Regions from separate parts of the Homo sapiens genome. Here region 1 is linked to region 2. Evidence: promoter capture Hi-C in 16 types of primary human blood cells and fetal thymus (Javierre and others, 2016). All regions are on one chromosome and are shown on one strand. The core of a region is centred on a gene start or on the middle of the fragment in contact, and the rest is flanking DNA. Distances in the headings are between cores, read along the strand shown.

The links. Contacts are between HindIII fragments. The CHiCAGO score rates a contact against its expected background, and 5 or more counts as called.
Region 1: a fragment that was not itself captured here is called in contact with the fragment with the promoter of MMP19 in region 2 in 2 of 17 cell types (endothelial precursors and total CD8 T cells); the score reaches 5.4 in endothelial precursors.

The regions. Positions count from the first base shown.
Region 1 is chr12:55,955,843-55,958,686 of GRCh38, forward strand. PMEL (premelanosome protein) reads right to left here. Exons shown (of 11, transcript NM_001384361.1): 4 at 2,631-2,765; 5 at 2,081-2,242; 6 at 1,107-1,829; 7 at 261-377; 8 at 1-21. Among named protein-coding and RNA genes, the nearest start is that of PMEL, 8.8 kb to the right of the region's middle. RefSeq lists an enhancer at 1,063-1,564. The HindIII fragment of the contact is 2,620 bases long and covers 35-2,654 here.
Region 2 is chr12:55,841,614-55,844,626 of GRCh38, forward strand. MMP19 (matrix metallopeptidase 19) reads right to left here and starts at 1,323. Exons shown (of 9, transcript NM_002429.6): 1 at 1,131-1,323; 2 at 740-825. The coding sequence starts at 1,217. The HindIII fragment of the contact is 3,493 bases long and covers 878-3,013 here.

The DNA.
Region 1 (2,844 bases), core at 95-2,594, 110 kb after region 2:
TCTCGGCACTTTCAATACCCTCTGCAGAGTTGCAAGCTTATCAAATTAGGATTCCTCTACCTGGCCTCCCCAAAAGCCCAGAGACAGAAAAGCCCCAGGGCTGCTCCACCAATCCCATCCCTGTGCTTTCAAATGAGGACTCTGGCATTTGGGTATTCTTCCTATCTAGGTGAGTAATTCCTCCCAAGGTGTGCTTCCACTGACCAGCCCTAGGTAGCACACAGCTGCCTCCATCAGCCACCAAAGTAGGCAAGACTCACGGACAATGTCCAGGGTGACGGAAAAGGAACCATATCGATACAGAACACAATCCAGGGGGACTTGTCTCTTCACCAGCCTTAAGGTGGCTGTACCATCCAGCAGGGGGCCCAGGGAACCTGGCAGGAGAGGATCAAGGAGGCAAGATCAAGAGACAGATGACTCATCTGGAGGCAGAGGCCAAGCAGGCATTTTTTCAGGTTGAACCAGAGTTACTGGATTCTGGAGTCACAGGCTTGGAATCAGATAAGACCTGGGAAACCTTATTCTATAGATAAGGAAACTGAGGCCCAGAAGAAGAAAATGACTCCTCCAGAGTCACAGTTAGGGGTGGCATTGGAGTTTTAAAAAATCCTCAAATGTTTATCACACCCCACACTATGTCAGGTCCTAGGCTAGACATTCAACGTGTGTTAACTCATTTAAGCATCACTGTTTCATTCCTCCCTTTTTGCTTTGGGATGGGAATCCAGGGTTGGGAAATGGAAGGATCAGGATCTCGGAATCTGGGAAGGATTTTCGTGCATTTATGCTTGAACAGAAAATGAGCTATAAATATTATATAAATGATCACAGTCTGTTCCCTGGTCTCGCCAACCGTTCTCAGCAGTAGAGAAAGCAACAAGCTCTTTCCTCATGGCCTAGGGGAAGACCTTGGTTTCCTGAACTCCAGACCTATTCCATGTCATTAAGAGAGACTGGAGGGCTTTATAGCCAGGCCAGTGAGAACTCTGAGGGGACCATAGTGCTAAGCAAAGGATTGGGTAACATCTGAGTCCTGGGTAAGACTTACAGAGTAGAGTAGGGTACCCCACCTCCGTGAACCTCATTCGCACTGATACTCTTACCTGTAATACTTTCCGTAGACATGATTGAGCTGGCATCTGGACCTTCAGGCTCAGGGATAGGTAGCTCTCTAGCTGTGGTCTCCACCCACTCTGTAGTTGTTACCTGTGCAGCTGTGGTTCCAGAAAGCACCACAATTGATACCTCTGCAGGTGTCATACCTGTAGCCTCTGGAGTTGACATCTCTGCCAGTGTGGTACCCATGACCTCTGAAACTGGCACCTTCTCAGGTGTCATACCTGTGCTCTCTGCAGTTGGCATCTGCACAGGTGCAGTGCTTATGACTTCAGTGGTTGGCACCTGCACAGATGTGGTTCCAGAGGGCTCTGCAGTTGGCGCCTGACCAGGTGTAGTACCCACAACTTCTGTAGTAGGCACTTGGCCAGCTGTGGTGTTAGGGGCCTCTGCAGTTGGCCTGTGCCCATCTGTGGTGCCTGGAACTGGGGAGGAGCCACAGGAGGTGAGAGGAATGGCAGCCTGCAGGACCACCTGGGCAGTGACTGGGCCAGGCTCCAGGTAAGTATGAGTGACCACAAGTGCCCGAGAGATCAGGGTTCCACTACTGTCTCCAAAGTCCCAGGTGTAGGAGAGGTCAGCTTCAGCCAGATAGCCACTGGGGTCATGGAGCTGGAGGGCAAAGGTCAGAGGCTGATTTCTCAGGAAGTGCTTGTTCCCTCCATCCAAGGCCCGCAACTGGGACACGCTCACGGAGAAAGGCACCTGGTCTGGGATTGGAGCCAGAAAAGGTGAGAACCAGGCCTGAGCCACAGCTTCTCCTTTCACAGCCACACCCTCCAACTCCAAGCTGACTGGCTGGCCCTTCACTGGCACTAAGCCTCACATTTCTCTGCCTAGGTCTTCCTGGCCCTTCTACTTTAAGTTTGCACAGCATTTCACCTTTCTCCTTTCCAGTCCATCCAAGCCTCCCTGCCTTCTCTTGCCCTACAACTGGCCTTGCCCCTTCCTAAACCCTTACCAGTAATGGTGAAGGCTGAGCTGGAATGAGCAAGAGGCACATAGCTCCGGGATCCCCGGCGATGGTAGACAGTCACTTCCATGGTGTGTGTGCCCAGCATTGCCCTGCCTGTCCCAATGCTCAGCCCAGACACTGGGCCCCCTAGAACTTGCCAGTATTGGCCTGAAGTTTTTGGAATGAAAAGCAAGGAAGAAGAGATTACTGGTCAAAGGGGACTGAGGGACAGGCTTCGAAACGGCACTGGAGATGGGAGGTCAGGAAGTATGATTACTTCTGAGGGTGTTTGGAAGGCTGTGATATGGGGGGACAGGGAAGGGGTCCTAATGAGGCATTCCATGGGGTAGGACTACAATTGAGGAAGAGTTGCCAGAAAGAATTATGATAGAGTTGAAGGGGGCTAGGTGCTAAGAAAGAGAAAAGATCTAAGAGGAAAATGAAGATTAGAGAAAATCACAGAAGTTAAGGTGGAAGGGGCGGCCAAAAGAAAGGTGATCAGGTAGAAAGAAGTAAACACAAGTGTGGATGATAGGCTGAGAAGGGAGTCCCTCACCCCAGGTCTTCCAGACATAAACAAAGCTTCTCTTCTGAGACCAAGAGCCAGATGGGCAAGGTCCACCATCAGGGAAGATGCAGGCATCGTCAGTTTCCTGGGGATACACTGGCTGTCCTCCCCACACCTGGCTCCCTGAAAGATAAATACAGAGTCACTCTCAAACCCTGGCATTCTTTTTTGTATATCAAAACCCCTAAAATTGCTCCCAGGG
Region 2 (3,013 bases), core at 73-2,572:
TCATTATGTTGCCCAGGTTGCTGTCAAACTTCTGGGCTCAAGCAATCCCCCTGCCTGGATCTCCCAAAGTGCTGGGATTACAGGCGTGAGCCACCATGCCCAGCCCCTCTACTGCAATTTCTAACCTTCTCCTACTCTGTGGAGGTGTCTGGCTCCCCTGCTCTGGAGAGCTTTCCACTAGTGCTCCCACCTGACAGCCTGTCCTCCTTCAGCCTTCTCCCTTCCTGAATGGATACCCGTCCCAGCCCAGCTTGCCCTGGAGCAATTTCATCCATCTATGGACTGTCATAGGGCCTAGGGGCTTTTCAAGGGACCTGAACATATCTGAGAGCAGAAAGAAAAATAATCCATTACATCAACATATAAAACTATAAAATAGAAATAAATAAGTACCAAATTGAAGGCCCACAAAAGGTAATAGCATGTCAACAACTCAACTCAGTTTTACATATCATTACACTTTATGTGGACTATAACTAAATATTAGTATTTGAGATATGATGTGGGTAGAGACTCCAAAGGAATGCTTATGGCCTAGGAAGATCCAATGCCTGTATTCCTCATCTGTGAATCCCCATCTCACCCCATGCCCCACCACCATAATAATGATCGCCACCCATCTCTAAATCCCTGGCATGGTTTAGGGTCAGGAGGAGGTGGGCCTGGGGAGAGGAAGGGATGAGAAGGAAGAAGACCTTGAGACCTTAGCCCTAAAGGCATACACCTCATAGCTTCTCACCTCAGAGCCTCGGTGATATCTTCTGGCTTGAAGTTATTAGATCCTTCTAGAGGCTTCTGTAGGTACCCATATTGTGACAGGTAGTCCTATGATGGGAGTGGAGGTAAGCAGGTTAAAAGGGGGTTAGTCTCAGAGTAAAGCTTCTAAGTGACCTAACAGATCCATCAGGAGAGGAGGGACCTGATATGGAAGCACTAATGGAGAAGCACCTTAGAGAAGGGGCTCAGGTGGAACAAGGGGAAGCAGCGGGAGATGGGCAGGGTAGACCATGGGGCAGAGAGAGCAAGGGAAAGGCAGGCAGGCTGAAGGTCAGGAGGGAGGCTTCGATGGGGCTGTGGAGCAGTAACCCCTGTCCCTCCGCTGGCCCAGGTCTCTTTCTTGGGGGACTTACCACAGGCGCCACCTCTGCAAGCCCCAGGACCCGGCCTGAGACTGTCATGGGGAGTAGGAAGCCCAGCCACAGCTGCTGGCAGTTCATGGTCCCACCAGACGAGAGCTCCAGAGGCTGTCCGTGCCTCTGACCTGAGATTTCTGGGAGCCTTGGGGGAGCAGTGCTAGGCAGAGGGGCTCTTACCCCCAGTTCTTTTTACTCTCCAGCCTCTAGTCCTCTTTATAACAGCTGAGGGGAATTTGGGGGAGAGGCAGAGGGAGGTGACTCAGCCAAGAGATATGTTGCAATTCACCATTAACCCTTGCCCTACCAGAGAGCGGAAGCCAAAGAGAGTTCCCAATCGCTTCCCTCAGAGTCCTCTGCTGGAGATGGAAAAACTTCATACTGCCCTAGGGTGAGCATCCAGGCAGGACGAGAACCAGAATCTCTGGAGAGACTAGAGATAGGGATCATGGACATCCCCTGGAATTAGACATCAATGTGCCTCAGGGACCCTGGGCCAGCAAATCACTCCGCCCCTACCTTTGAGTCTCCCTAGAATAAGCTGAGAGGTAGGAAACAGCTGAGGTAGCTTGGGTTTCAGGTGAAGGAGTCAAGCGTGAAGTCTCAGTTTCTTTGTACCCAAGACCAAGTTGGGAATATAGATGCTCCTGCAACCTACTTATGTCTGCTTTAATAAAAAGTCATTATTTCAAGAATCTAATGAGCCTGGAATATGTGGGTGTAGGTGGGACTTAACAAGGGCACAAATAAGTAAAGGGCCCAGAGCCTACCCTCAGGGAGCTTACGGATCCAGTGAGGCAGATCCAGACACCTGGGAAGAGGGGAGCCAGCGTGCCAGGCCAGAGGTGATTCACCCTAAGGGGCTTGGGGCTGGGGGGAGGTTTGCTGAGAAGTCAGGCTTTGAGATGGGCTTTGAAGGCCAGCTAAGAATTGATGGGGTAAGGCCAGGCATGGTGGCTCGCTCCTGTAATCCTAGCACTTTGAAAGGCTGAGGTGGGTGAATCACTTGAGATCAAGAGTTCGAAACCAGCCTGACCAACATGGTGAAACCTTGTTTCTACTAAAAATACAAAAATTAGCCAGGTATGGTGGCGGGCGCCTGTAATCCCAGCTACTCGGCAGGCTGAGGCAGGAGAATCACGTGAACCCAGGAGGCAGAGGTTGCAGTGAGCTGAGATCACACCATTGCACTCCAGCCTGGGCAACAGAGCAAAAACTCCATCTCAAAAAAAAAAAGAATTGATAGGGTAAAAGGATACTGAGAGACAGACAGTGCAGGTCTTGAGTAAAAGTGCAGAGCTGAGAGACTGCTGTACTCAGTAAGTCAGAAGGGTCACGACTGCTTCATTCACCACTGAAGCCCGAGTGCCTACCCCAGGCCACCTCCATGCTTTCGAGGCTGTGCTTAATAAATCACTGTCAAAGAATGACCAGGGTGGGAAAGTGGTTGGGAGACAGAATTTGGAGAGGGCCTTAAATGCTATGCAAGGAAAAGAAGAAAAACTTACATTTAAAAATACCGGACGGGAGCAGTGGCTCACGTCTGTAATCCCAGCACTTTCGGAGGCTGAGGTGGGCGGACCATGAGGTCAGGAGTTTGAGACTAGCCTGGCCAACATAGCAAAATCTTGTCTCTACTAAAAATACAAAAATTAGCCAGGCGTGATGGCATGCGCCTGTAATCCCAGCTACTCGGGAGACTGAGGCAGGAGAATTGCTTGAACTGGGGAGGCGGAGATTGCAGTGAGCTGAGATCGCGCCACTGTACTCCAGCCTGGTGACAGAATGAGACTCTGTCTCAAAATTAGTTAATTAGTTAATTAATTAAAATAAAAATACCTATTATTGGGTGATGGGTGAACCAAAATCTCACAAATCAC